Regions from separate parts of the Homo sapiens genome. Here regions 1 and 2 are each linked to region 3. The links are contacts of gene promoters, found by promoter capture Hi-C in blood cells and fetal thymus (Javierre and others, 2016). All regions are on one chromosome and are shown on one strand. The core of a region is centred on a gene start or on the middle of the fragment in contact, and the rest is flanking DNA. Distances in the headings are between cores, read along the strand shown.

Region 1 (4,722 bases), core at 1,050-3,549, 110 kb after region 3:
GTAGCTGTGTGACCTTAGGTAACTTACTTGGTCTTTTTAGGCCTCAGCCTCCTCCATCTGCAAAAGTTGGGATAACAATCTCTACTTCAGATTATTGTGAGGATTAAATGAGGTAAAGTATGCAAAACACTTGGTTAAGTGACTACCACTTAGTAAATGCTCCAAAATATGGGTATCTACTAGTGACAGGTCAACTACATCCCTGCCCTTTTCCAAGACAGAAGACTAACAAAGAAAAGGTCTCTTCATCTCTACAACAGTGCTTGGCATACAGTGGTGAGTAAATATTTGATAAATAAATAGACAGATAGATAAATACAGATCCTCAAACCCTGAGTTTAGTGGCAGGGAGACTCTAATCTCGTGTATGTAAGCCAGGATGGAAGGGAATACTTTTTCCCATCCTTATTATTACTATTTTTTTTTTGAGACAGAGTCTCACACTGTTGCCCAGGCTGGAGTGCAGTGGCACGATTTCGGCTCACTGCAACCTCCGCCTCCCAGGTTCAAGCGATTCTCCTGCCTCAGCCTCCCAAGTAGCTGGGATTACAGGCATCTGCCACCACGCCCAGCTAATTTTTTATTTTATTTTATTTTTAGTAGAGACAGGGCTTCATCATGTTGGCCAGGCTGGTCTCGAACACCTGACCTTGTGATCCACTCACTTCGGCCTCCCAAAGTGCTGGAATTACAGGTATGAGCCACCGTGCCCAGCCTATTATAACTATTTTTTGAGACAGGGTCTTGCTCTGTCGCCCAGGCTGGAGTGCAGTGGTGCGATCTTGGCTCACTGCAACCTCTGCCTCCCGGGTTCAAGTGATTCTCATGTCTCGGCCTCCTGAGTAGCTGGGATTAGAGGTGCGTGCCACTATGCCTGGCTAATTTTTGTATTTTTAGTAGCTGTGGGATTTCACCATGTTGGCCAGGCTGGTCTTGAACTCCTGGCCTCAAGTGATCCACCTGCCTTGGGCTCCCAAAGTGCTGGGATTACAGACGTGAGTCACCACACCAGGTTATAGTTCCTATAACTTTTCCCCTACTTAGGACATTTGAGTTGTTTCTAATTTTTCACCACTGTAAATAACACCGAGATGAACATGCTGGTACATATATCTTCATCCCTTTCCTGACTGTCTTCTTTGGCTACATTCCCAGCAAAAGGAAAGGGTATCATTTTCCGGAAAATTTACATCCTCTCTAGCAGTGTATTAAAATGTCAATGTATGTTTAAAATATCAAATACTGTAAGAATGTATTGAAGCCACCTGGGAGAAATTCCTCCCATGTGATGTATCATCTCAGATTCTGAGGAACTGGGTGGAGTAAATAGTAAACTGAGCTGTTGGGCACTAACAGTTACAACGGCTCCGTTGTCTCTGCTCTGCAAAGACAGGAGATGGGTGTTCTTCAGACAGGAAACAGGAACTCAGTGGGTGGACCTAAAAGGGAGTGCGGGCTTCGAAACAGGAAAAAAAGAAGTCTGCTTCTGATAGTGAAAGAGATGCATTGCTGTGCTGTCCTGATCATCCTACTAAGTCAAACCTTTATTCTATATCTGTCCTTGCATTCTATTTGCAGTTGTTTTAATTTTGCTAAGTGTTGTGTTAGTTTCATGTGACTGCTTTTATTTTTTCCATTTCAGGGAATGACATCCATCTAGTTGTTCAAGTCAGAAACCATGCAGTTATTTGATACTTCCTCTTTCTCACTCCCTATATCCAATCTCTCAACCAAGTTCTGACAATCTTCTCTCTAAAATATTTCTACACTTGGTCATAGCTAAAAGGCCAAGAAGCGATTCTAAAATATTTCTCTAATTGGTTTGCTCATCTCATCTTGACTTCCAATGTTCTAGTTCAAACCACCACGGTCTCTTGACTAGTCTACTGCAATACCCTCCTAGCTCATTTTCATGTTTCCATTTTTGCTTCTGCGAGTTCATTTCCAAATTTCTGCCCAAGTAATATTTTAAAAACTGAAATAGATAATGTTATTTCTCATGATTTGTTTCCCTAAGTCCAAATCCTTAATTTGGCCTACAAAGCTTTGCATGATTTGACCCCTGCTCACCTCTCCAACCCTACCTTTTGTCACTCTCTCCCTTCCTCCCTGTTTCAGTCACAATGGCTTTTCTGTTCTTGATTTTTCTCTCAGCTCTTTCCAGCCTTAGGGTCTTTGCACATGCCTTTCCTTACACCTGGAATGCTCTGCCTGCCACCCTTCACCTGGTTAATTCTCACTTATCTTGTAGGTCTTAGTTTAAATGTCACTTCTATAGACAGGCTTTCTTATAGCAGCTTTTTCTTTTCCTTTATAAACTTCTCATAATTAAGAATATATACATTTCTGTTTCTTCCATTGGAGAGTGGGTTTCTTAAGGTCATAGGTAATGTCTTTTAGGTCACTACAGAATATATATCTAGGGCTTGACACAATGTCTGGCATAGACTAAATGCTCTTCATTTAAATGAACCATAACGTCTATCAGTGTTAGGAAGGAAGTAGGTTTTAAAATACAGGTACGTACGGAAAATTCCCTGTTGCCATTTAAATGTTAAGCTTGCCAATCGGGGATTTTCAAGTTTAGTGTTGTATAACTGAATTCAGGAATTATTCTCTATAGCATGAAACCAACAAAAGGCAAGTCATATTTACTCCAAATTTCAGAGTATTTCCAGTTTTTTCTGTCTTCTTGAGGGTTGAGGCAGATTTAGGATTGGGCAGAGTTAGTTAGCTGCTTTTCTGTGGTTGGTACTTTAAAAACGATTCTTCTTTTTCACCTGGGGACATGGGTACTCACCAGCAGGCTGTGACACAAAGCATGGAAATGTTGCTGATTTGTCTCCAGCTCATCCCAGTCCAGCTGCCAACAGCTTGTAGGTCTGAGGATGAACGGGAGTCCATATGTCAATGACTCGCAGAGCCCGCTAGATTTTAAAGCCCTAGGAAGAGATAATTACAGTCAAAGACTCCTTAGTGATATCTAGAACCTCCACCTAGATCCACTTCAATTCAGCTTAACTCTAAGACAGTACTGTGAAAGCTTTTAAATTAGTGTCTGTGAACTATGCATCTTTGTATGGCCAGCATCTAGCATAGTATCTAGCACACAGAAGATTGTCAAAGTTCAGGAACCTGTGCATGGGCACAGTGGTAGGAACTGGGAAGAGTTGAAGCAGACTCTGCCATTATTGCTAATTCATTGTGTTTTTTTGTTTTGTTTTGTTTTTCTTTCAAGATAAGGGCTTGCTCTGTTACCTAGGCTGGAGTGCAGTGGTTCAATTAACTCACTGCAGCCTTGAACTCTTGGGCTCAAGCGATCCTCCTGCCTCAGCTTCCCAGAGTGGCTGGGATTACAGGCATGAGCCACCGTGCCTAGTCTGCTAATTCTATCCTACAATTGGTTCTCCTGGAAGAAGGAATTCTAGTACTTAGAGAAATGGGAGGGGGCAGGGGTAGATCCTATGTACCACTTACTCCTTGAAGGTTGGATCTCTGTCTTGATGCCTAAACAAAGTAGCTATTCAATAAACATTTACTAAATGGATAAACACCTTTTTAATGAGTCAAAAGAAAAACAATCCTCATGCAGACCTCAGAGTGTTCTACTGCAGCGCTTCTCCCACCATCTGCACATTTGGCCTCCACATGCTGAGTAGCCTGTCTTTGCTTCCTCATGCCATAGCTGTAACTGCTACTTCGGAACTGACTCTTGCCTGCCTGACACTTAAGAGATACCATCTATCTCTGGAGTTCCTAGCCACAGAACCACTAAGAATAGCATTTGCATGGATTGGGGAGGTTCCCTTGGACCATACTTGATCACTTGGAGCTTGTAATGAGAGGCCGATGACTGGGAAGCCATCTGGTAGAGTGTGATGAAGTCTCCTTTAGGGTCATCCATTCTCAAGGAGCCGTCAGCTGTGCCAGCGAGTAGGGATGGGCAGAGCAGTCGCTCTTGGAGATCACATTTCAGACACACTACAATAAAAGGAGATTACATTTCAGACACACTACAATTGGAGGAAGGATTGTGGGTAATAAGTTACCTTAGGCTATGCCATTAAGAGACAACATCTGCTACCCATTCCATCTCTACCAGGCAAGCAAGGGATAGGAGGAGGCAGGAGAGTGGAAAGAGGAAAGCCTGACTGGTTTGGAAAGGGAGAACAGGTCTGGAAGCTATAGTATCTCTATCGCTCTACATAAAAGTTAACTTATCTTCAAGAGTCTGACATGATCTTTACTTGTTTTACTTCTGGGCTGGCTGAGCAGTTGTCTCATAGTGAGACATCTGGCTTGTGATCCAGTCTGAGGAACATGTATCCTCTGTGGAGGAGGTAGCTAATGCCAAAATATGCAGAGGCCCTTTGGCAATCACAGAAGGAAATCTTGCTTCTGCTGCTTCCTTGTGGCTAAGCTTTGGCAACAGTGCAGGTCAGATGAAGGAAGAGCAGTAAAGCAGAAGTCAGGCAGTCAGATGACTGCTACTGTTTCTCTGTGGGCTCGTTCAGGGACATTCAGAGTGGGGGGAAAGGAATAAGTTCCTGAAATAGCTTATTTTTTAATTCCCCAAAGAAACATGAATTTAGGACCTTCTGGGCCTTGGAGCATCACAGTGGCATCAGACAACAGTTCTGAGGAATGCTTAGGCTAGGTAGGAGTTACTCATCTAGGTATTTTACTCTTCTGCATTAAGCTTCTGCTCCAGTAGGTAACTGC
Region 2 (4,847 bases), core at 1,694-4,193, 130 kb after region 3:
ACAGGGCCCTAACCTCTAGGCCTGACCTGTTCCTTTCCGAATGACATTCATGAGGCCTGTACTTGGGTGTCATGGATGGGCTTCAGACATTCTGAGAACCCCTTGAAATTATATACAATTCATCTGTACATGCATAGATGTATTTTGGTGGGGTGGGGGAAGGGGGAAAGCCCCTAGCTTTTATCAGATTCTCAAAAGAGCTCTATGACCCCAAAAAGGTCAAGAACCACTACAGAGACTATAGAGTCACAGTATCTTAGCCTGCCTGGGTTGGTTTACAATTAGCTGTCTACTCTCTGAATACAGGATAGCTATAGGATGTTAACAACCAGGGTAAGTAATCACAGCAGATAAAGCTTAGTCAGGAACAGCAGTGCAGCATCATCCAACCATTGTCTTTAAATCAACACAACATGAGAATAATCTAACAGCTTACAACGGTGAGGCAGTCAAGCTTGTCTTTCTAAGCTCATTTGCCTCATTTGTGGAAGTGATGCTTGGACCCTAGGAAAAAGGAGAAGCCCCTTGAAAAGAGTTGGCAGGGGTGGTGGTAGTGGTTATCAACATGTGAACTCAGGGCAGAGAGGTGACTGCAGGAATGGACCTAGTGGTGACTATCTTCCTGGAGCCCCAGTCTGTAAGAGGGTCAAAACATCACCATAACTGTAATGAGATAGAGAAAATTTATATCCCAGAACTCTTCTCAGAGAGAGAGAACTGTTGTCATTCATTCATTTGCTTAGTCATTCATTTATTTAGTCATTCAAGCACTTATTAGTTTACTGTCTTTTATGAGCTAGGCACTTATTGGTGTCATCAAGAAAAGAGACAAATTGCCTACTTTCGTGGCTTACATTCTAGTGAGAGAACAGATAATAAGCAAGCAAATAAAACAGAATACAATTTCAGATGATAGATACTATGAAGAAAAATAAAGGGGCGTGTGTGTGTGCACGCGCGCGCGTGCATGCATGTGAAGTTTTAGCTTGGCTGGCCAGGGAAGTATTCTTTAAGAAGCTGACAGTTGGGCAGAAACTTGAATGACGTGAAGTGAGTCATAAAAACATTTGTGCGAAGATTGTTTCTTATAGAGAGATGAGCAAGTTCAAAGGTCTTGAGATGGGAATGAGCTTTTTGTGTTGGGGGATTAGCCAGAAGACTAAAGCAGAATAAGGAAGGAAGTGAGGACTAGCTAATAAGCTGCTGGGGTGAAGGACAAGACCCCCAAAGTGGCACACTCATGTATCAACAGGGGTCACTACACTTGCTTTGAAGAAGGGTGGGTTCCATTATTGCAATTTGGTATTGCTCAGGAACTGTGCAAGAGTGGGGCAGAGTAAAGCAAGTTCCTTTTTCTTTCTCTTTTTCTTTGTAGCTCTTAGCTTCTAAACAACTACTGAATTAGCATTTTAAAAATATTTGTTTGAAGGTGTGCCCAAGCTATCAGCTTGTGTAAGGTGCCACATGTCCCAGCCCAGCTTTACCGCTTATGCTTTCCTGTTGTGTGGTGCTGGCAGGCAGTGGGGAAGGAGGGAAGAGGAATCTGGGAGTTCCATGAGCAGAGCTCAAGCAGAGATCCTTCAGCCTGTAGTGGACATGCCTCTTTCCCAGCTCTGGTCAGCTACCCAGGGAATTCTATTGTTAGCAGTTGTCCATTCACCTGCCCTCATCAAGCTAATATAGTCTAAGGCAGGCTGAAAAAAATAATTGACTGTTAACTAAAGAACTAATGGTTCACAATGGATGATTTATATTATGGGTGTCCAATCTTTTGGCTTCCCTGGGCCACATTGGAAGAATTGTCTTGGGCCACACATAAAATGCATCAACACTGATGATAGCTGATGAGCTTAAAAACAAATCTTATAATGTTTTAAGAAAGTTTACGAATTTTTGTTGGGTTGCATTCAAAGCCGTCCTGGGCTGCATGCAGCCTGCGGGAAGCAGGTTGGACAAACTTGATTTACATAATTTCTGACTAGGGAATAGTGGGTTCTATTTGGGCTGCTATCACAAAATACCACAAACCAGTGGCTTATAAGCAACAGAAATATATTTCTCACCGTTTTGGAGGCTGGGAAGTCCAAGATCAAGGTGCTGGCAGATTCAATGTCTGGGGAGGACCTGTTTTTGGTTGATAAATGGCCCCTTCTCACTGTATCCTCATATGGTGGAGGGGGCAGACAAGCTCCTTAGGGAACATTTTATAAAAGCACTAATCCCATTCAGGAGGATTCTGCCCTCCCTCATGACCTAATCCACCATTCAAAGGCCCCACCTCCTAATACTATCTATTTGGTGATTAGATTTCAAAGATGAATTTTAGGGGGGGCGGGGGCGGGATACAACATTCAGACCATAGCAGACTCCCTTAGCTCTAAGATAGGTCCCAAATACTACAATTTCAAATGTAGTATTTCAGCCTTTAGTAAACAGATGAATTGGGTAAGAAAAAGTTTAGAGAGCAATTATTTTGGCTGGGAGAGTAGCCTTTTTATAATCTTTTTCTTAGGCTTGTGTGTTTCTAAGAGGGCAGAAGTGGGGACTGCCCTATGAGAGAAGCTGCACTGCACCCCTCACCTCTGGAGCCACGGAAGTGTTCCCGGATTGCCAATCCCACTTTGAACTGAGTGACTTGCTCTGCCCTAGACAGTCCAGAGAGAAGTTATTGCAGGTACGGGAGAGAAGGGCCCTGGTTAAGGCAGGGTATACCTGCCTCTGGCACCAGTTGTAGCACCTTATCTACCTCTGTACCCACAGCACTAGCGCAGTGTTTACATACAACAGGGGCTCAGTAAACGTTATATTGAACAGAAGAAACTAGCCAGCCTGGTGCTTACTTTCTCTGTGACCTTAGGCCAGTCACTTCATCTCTTTAAGCTCAATTTCTCCATTTGTAAAGTGGGAATGATAGTGATACCTAGGCTAAGGGTTTACTTGAAAATGAAATAATGACACTTGACTCCTGAAAGCAATTTGTGGACTTTAAAGCACCATGCAACTATAAGGGATGATAGAGTATAAAGCCGCCTCCCAGCTGTCTATGTAGTAGATATGAACATTTTATTCACTAAAAGCCAGTGCCATTTCTTTTGCTGAAAATTTTCTCTTCAATAAAGATCTAAGTTGTAAGAAAATATATTTTATCTATGGGTCTCAATGGCTTCATTTTCATTTTATTGGAAAAATGCAGCTTATATGCAAAAGAGATTGATCACTATTGATTGAAATATTCCAAAGTCTGAAGTATTTTTTGACGTGAGAAACATTAGACTTAGAAGGTATTTTAAAAGTCTTCTTTTTCTACAGGGACTAATACATATATTCTATAAACCAAAAAGCATTTAATGTAAATTGCAATGCAAAATTGAAAAGCTGGGAAGAAATATTGTCATAGGCACTGTGGTGGGGGAGGGAGCAGGGGAATGGGTTATTTAGGAGAAGTTTGAATTAAGAAGAAAGCAGAGTTAGGAAGGCGTTAAATCTTTTGACATGACCCAAGAACCACACCAAGCAGTTTTGACTCCTTACACCTAAGGGAACTGAAAGAAAGAGCTGCCTTGAGGTGAAAATAAATGTAAGTGGAGCCATGAAAGAAAAGACTTACTTGGGGGAGCTAAGTAGAGTAAGGAAAAGCTAAAGAAGACGCTCAAATCAAAGAAAGTCCTAAGACATACTCTTTTATTTTTTTGAGACAGAGTCTCACTCTGTCCTCTAGGATGGAGTGCAGTGGTGTGATCTCAACTCACTGCAACCTACATCTCCCAGGTTCAAGTGATTGTCCTGCCTCAGCCTTCTGAGTAGCTGGGATTACAGGCGCCCACCACCACGCCTGGCTAACTTTTTATTTTATTTTATTTTATTTTTTTTCAGTAGAGAAGGGGTTTCACTATGTTGGCCAGGCTGGTCTCGAACTACTGACCTAAGTGATCCACCCACCTCGGCCTCCCAAAGTGCTGGGATTACAGGCATAAGTCACTGAGCCCAGACCTAAGACATATTCTTAAAAAAATCCTAGATAGACTGTATAATAGCTTTGCAACCGACTCTGTGTATATACATGCATTTTTGTAGATCTGGGGGTGTATCTTCAGGGTATTAGATTCCTAGAAGTGGGGCTGGTGACTTCTAGGGATAGAAGTAAAACACATAGGTAATTTTGTGTTTAAAAATAAACACATGCCACTTCTATTGGTGTCATACTTTTTAACTTTTGCCAATCTAATAATAGGTAGGAAATAATATTTTGGTATAGTCTTAATTATCATTTCTCTAATTATGGGTGAGGTTGAACATATTTTCACATGTTTAAGGACCATTTAAAAATCTTTTTTTGAATTATGTGTTTATGACTTTTTTCCATTTTTCTCTAGTGTTTTTGGTCTTTTTCTTACTCCTCAGTTTTAAAGTGTTCTTTATATATTAGAGATATTAGTCTTTTTTTTCTCCCATGGCATAAATTGCAAATACTTTCTCCTGGTTTTTCAGTTGTCTTTTGACATTGTTTATGGTACTTTTTGCCATGCCAAAGATTTTTATTTTCATATAGTTAAATAAATAAATCTTTCTTTATTGTACCTGGATTTTGAGTCATAGTTAGATGACCTTTATCTATGCTGAGATTGTAAAGAAATTCACCAATGTTTTCTTTTAATACTTTTAATATTATTATTTACATTTGGATCCCTGGTCCATTTGGAATCTTTTCCAGATGGCTAAACCAGTTGTCCCAGCATTACTTTTTGAGCAAGTTCATCTTTGCCTTAGTGATTTGAGATGTCTCCTTTATCCTATGCTAAATTAATATCTATATTCGTGCCTATTTCTGGACCTTGAATATGTATATA
Region 3 (4,790 bases), core at 2,224-4,723:
AGCTCAGCAGCTACCTCAGCCTCACCCAGATGCTCTGCCAGCCGCGTCAGCACACGGGCACCCAGTGCCACCCAACATCGCAGGTCCAGGTGCCGCTCGGTTACTGAAGGGTGTGAAGCCCGGGGGTAGTCATCCAGCCCAGAGGGTAGGGTCTTGGGGTTCAGTAAGGTTGGTAAGGCAGGGTCCCGTCCCCGCCAGCGGTAAGATAGTGGCAGTGGGCCTGCCTGGCTCTGATGGAGCCAGGAAAACCAGGCATGCAGGCGGGGCAAGGCCTTTCGGAGGAAAGCCAAGTCGTCAGGGTCACCAACCTCTAGCATATGGGCTACAGGCAAAAGTAGGGTTGGGGGGTTGGCGTGGACTGCTCGTTGTACTAGGAATTCTGGAGGCACCCGGGCTCGGGCCTCATCCCCCAGTATCTGCTCCCTCCCAATCCAGCCATCAGCATTTAGCAGCCCCAGCCAGTGGCCAAGGGCTTCCCGGGTGAGGGAGGGATCCCACCGCTGAACCACCAGCTGGTGAAAGCCTTCATCCCAAAGGAAGCCTCGTGGGAAGAATGACCGGGAGGGCACTGCTGTAAAAAGAGGTACGGGTGGAAAGAGGGCTGGGTCCACCTTCTGCTCAGACCCTTCCACCCCGATGTCTGGCAATACCAGCCCTTGTCCGTAGAAGTAGCCAATTCCACCAAGGAGGCCGCTGAGGGCAGCCTGACCCAAAACCTGCTCGCCAGAGCTCAGGCCCTTCTCCTTCAGCTGGAAGGTCTTCTCAAAGCGCTCTCTAAAGCCTTCAGCATGGCTCTCCAGGGCCTGGGTCAGTAGACTGCCTGCCAGTCTTGGCAGGGCTTGATTTCCTCCTGCCTGGGCACTGCCTGATTCAAACACAAACTCTATGGAAATGGGAATTTTCAGGGTCACCTGCTGTATCAAGAACTGCCCCTGCCCTTGCCCACTTGGACCTCTGTCCTCCCACTTCAGGGATCCTGGCAAGCCGAGGTAGCGTTCAGGGGGGGCCCCTGGGGGCCGATGCTGAAACCAGCTATTTAGGCGACTCTTTACCATCTCTGTCAGCAGGGGCAGTCCTGGGTTGGAGGTCCAGAAGACATTGTAGCTTGAAGGGGAGAAGATAAATAGGAAATATTATTCAAGAGAAGGCAGTGGGCATTATAAAGAGAAATACAAAGTGTTCAGGAGTCAGGTTGGGAGGTCTCAGGCAGGGGACATGGAGACTGGTGAAAATGGGAATAACCACCCCTTCCATCCCCCAACATTCTTTTCCCCCAGTTACCTGCCATACTTGGGGGCTGTATCCCCTGGACTGGTTGGTGGCAAAAGTGTAAAGCGGAAGTCACCAAGTTCACTGGTGTGCCCACTGATAAACTTCAACTGCCCCTTGGCCCCAACCTCTGGTAGTAGGACTTCCTTGCCATCTGTCACCACATAGAAGAACAGGGAGACCAAAGGGAGGGCAGAAGTACCTGAGTCCTGAGTGACCAACGAGGACAGAAAAGAACAGTGTTAGATTGGCATTCTCTCTTGAATTCCCTCTTGAGAATCAGCCTTAGTGAGGGAAAGGAACAGTAGGCAGGGGTAATGTAAACAACATACGTCTGGCAGTAATGAGGGTCACTGAGGGTAACCAGGTACACCCAAGCGGGATGAGATAAAGAGCCTTGCACTGGGTGCCCTGGGAGATAACAGTATACTTTTGTACTATGTCCTACACTAAGAACTCTACACAGTTGATTTCATTTAATTCTTTTTTTTTTTTTTTTTTTTTGAGGCGGAGTCTCGCTCTGTCGCCCAGGCTGGAGTGCAGTGGCGCGATCTCAGCTCACTGCAAGCTCCGCCTCCCAGGTTCACGCCATTCTCCTGCCTCAGCCTCCCGAGTAGCTGCGACAATAGGCGCCCGCCACCACGCCCAGCTAATTTTTTGTATTTTTAGTAGAGACCGGGTTTCACCGTGTTAGCCAGGATGGTCTCCATCTCCTGACCTCATGATCCGCCCGCCTCAGCCTCCCAAAGTGCTGGGATTACAGGCGTGAGCCACCGCGCCTGGCTTTTTTTTTTTTCTTGAGATGGAGTTTTGCTCTTGTTGCCCAGGCTGGAGTGCAATGGCACGATCTCGGCTCAGCGCAACCTCCACCTCCCTGGTTCAAGCAATTCTCCTGCCTCAGCCTCCCAAGTAGCTTGGATCACAGGCATGCGCCACCACGCCCGGCTAATTTTATATTTTCAGTAGAGACGGTGTTTCTCCATTTTGGTCAGGCTGGTCTGGAACTCCTGACCTCAGGTGATCCGCCAGCCTCGGCCTCCCAAAGTACTGGGATTACAGGCGTGAGCCACCGCGCCCAGCCTCTTTTTCATTTAATTCTTACAGTCCTGTGAGTTAAGTGCTATTATTATCTACATTGTACATTTTACAAGCAAGGAAATCAAGGCTTAGAGATGGTAAATAGAAATGGTTATACAGGCAGTTGTTTAAGGCAGGATTTAAGCCAGGCAGCCAGAGCCCACTTCATGCTGCATTTGCTGGCAGCAAGGGAAGGATGGAGGGGGTCTGGGCTGAGAAAAGGGTGTCCTGAGGCCCTGACCTGAGGCTCTACAGTCACTCTCCAGCTCCAGTCCCCTCCGTGCTGACCCCCAGGCCTCTTGACGAACTCAGTGGTGAGCCTTAAGGCCCCATCCTGGATGTGTTGGCGCCCGAAGGAGAGGCCGTCGTGGAACTCCCAGCCATAGGGACCCACACCGTCCCCCTGCTCACACGTGTGCCTGAGCTTAGGAGTCCCCGGGGTGGTGCCCTGCTGCGCCCACATCAGTCCTGGGGGTAGAATGGCCACGTAAGTCAAAGAGCAGGGGACCTGTCCCTCCGGGTCTCCGGGTCATCCCTCTTCATAACTCTCCTGATCCATTCCTTCCCACCCTTGCTCTCGCTTCAAGCTGGGGCGCCCAGATTAGGAGTCCGCCTGCCTGCCCGCCCTGGGGCCCGGTTACCGGTGAGGAGGGGCTTCGGGCTGCGGGTCTTCATGCCGAAGTAGACGTGAGGGCGGTAGGTTCCCCAGAAGAGGTCCGGGGCCACGGCGGGGCTGGAGGAGTCGGCAGGCAACACAGGAGGCGCGGAGTGCAGCGTGACCGCCCGCCGCGCACGGTACCACGCCAGCACCCAGCGCCCCGACATACCCAGGGCCAAAGACAGGACCACGACGGCCAGAGCCACTCCTCCAGCCGTGCTACGCGGCCCGCCGCCCCGGCCGTCCCGTCGCCCGGGGCCTCCCCGAGCCGCCCTCTCGGCTGTCCGCACTCCCTCTGCCGGCACTGCGCGGCGCCGCCGCTCGCCCCGAGCCATCCTGGCACTGAGGTCCGCGTCACAAGAGCTCGGAGAGGCGGCAGTGGAGCCCGGGTCCTGCCTCACCTCTCCGGCTCCCGCCTCTCGCCCTGGCGACCACCGTCCGGTTAGCGACACCTGCCAGCCAGCGCCTGCGCCTCCGCCTCCGCCTCCCGCCGGAAGTCCCGCCCCGCCACGTTAGGTTAAGTCCCAGAGTCCGGAACCGCTGCCTGCGGCTTGACACAGGGTTGGTACGTAGCGTCTGTCCTGGGCGTTGGTCCACCGGGATTGCGTTTATCTGGCGACCCCATGGAGTTCACAGGCTCGGAAAAACCAATCTAACGTTGGGCTGAGGCATGAGAATCGTTTGAACCCGGGAGGCGGAGGTTGCAGTGAGCCGAGATTGTGCCACTGCACTCCAGCCTGGGCGACAGAGCGAGACTTCGTCTCAAAAAAAAAAAAAAAAGACTGATGTGGCCAGGCACCGAGGCGCACATCTGTAATCCCAGCACTTTGGGAGGCCGAGGCAGGTGGATCACCAGACATGAGGAGTTGGAGACCAGCCTGGTCAACTTGGTGAAACCCCATCTCTACTAAAAATACAAAAATTAGCCGGGTGTGGTGGTGGGTGCCTGTAATCCCAGCTATTCGGGAGGCTGAGGCAGGAGAATTGCTTGAACCTGGGAGGCGGAGGTTGCAGTGAGCCGATATTGCGCCATTGCACTCCAGCTTGGGCAACAAGAGTGAAACTGTTTCAAAAAAAAAGAAAGAGAGAGAGAGAGAGAGATGGAGGGAGGGAGGGAGGGACGGAGGGAGAGAGAGAGAGAGAGAGAGAGACTGATGCTTTATGCAACACGACCACTTATATTTCACTATAATCTGACTGGTGGCCCCACTCTCCACTAGTGGTAGACTTTTTGCTTATGAAATCATCTGACCAAACCCAATGGTTAGTCCTGTTTTTGTCTTTCTTGCTACCGTTGCATTTGTCGACATCCTTATTGTAGCACTTATTACATACCTGTTTCATTTTTCATCTTTGTATCACAGTACTAATCAATTATAGGCATAAGGCAGATGCTAAATATTTATAAATTCAACACATGTTTATTGTACACCCTATATCGCATTATGCAAGGTGCTGGGGACTCAGAGAAAATGGCCCCAACCTCAAGTTCACAGTCTAGAAGCACAATGCCAGCACTCAATGCATGTTGAACCATACCCATTTTTTTTTTTTTTTTTTTTTTGAGACGGAGTCTCGCTCTGTCACCAGGCTGGAGTGCAATGGCATGATCTCGGCTCACTGCAACCTCTGCCTCCAGGGTTCAAGTGATTCTCCTGCCTCAGCCTCACGAGTAGCTGGGATTACAGGTGCCCACCACCACGCCCAGCTAATTTTTGTATTTTTAGTAGAGATGGAGTTTCACCAGGTTTGCCAGGCTGGTCTCGAACTCCTGACCTCAGGTGAT

Evidence for each region. The method cuts DNA at HindIII sites, captures the fragments that hold promoters and counts their contacts. A CHiCAGO score of 5 or more calls a contact.
Region 1: a contact is called between a fragment that was not itself captured here and the fragment with the promoter of MOGS in region 3, in 9 of 17 cell types (total B cells, erythroblasts, naive B cells and 6 more). The highest score is 8.0, in total B cells.
Region 2: a contact is called between a fragment that was not itself captured here and the fragment with the promoter of MOGS in region 3, in 14 of 17 cell types (neutrophils, total B cells, naive B cells and 11 more). The highest score is 10.5, in neutrophils.

Annotation. Positions count from the first base shown.
Region 1 is chr2:74,572,638-74,577,359 of GRCh38, forward strand. It overlaps M1AP (meiosis 1 associated protein), which reads right to left. Exons shown (of 11, transcript NM_001321739.2): 6 at 3,819-3,981; 7 at 2,801-2,942. Among named protein-coding and RNA genes, the nearest start is that of DOK1, 20 kb to the left of the region's middle. The HindIII fragment of the contact is 515 bases long and covers 2,043-2,557 here.
Region 2 is chr2:74,588,113-74,592,959 of GRCh38, forward strand. All of the region lies in intron 4 of M1AP (meiosis 1 associated protein), which reads right to left. Among named protein-coding and RNA genes, the nearest start is that of DOK1, 36 kb to the left of the region's middle. The HindIII fragment of the contact is 4,982 bases long and covers 453-4,847 here.
Region 3 is chr2:74,461,909-74,466,698 of GRCh38, forward strand. It overlaps MOGS (mannosyl-oligosaccharide glucosidase), which reads right to left and starts at 3,474. Exons shown (of 4, transcript NM_006302.3): 1 at 2,988-3,474; 2 at 2,588-2,814; 3 at 1,282-1,478; 4 at 1-1,104. The coding sequence starts at 3,339. RefSeq lists a silencer at 3,041-3,260. The HindIII fragment of the contact is 14,256 bases long and covers 1-4,790 here.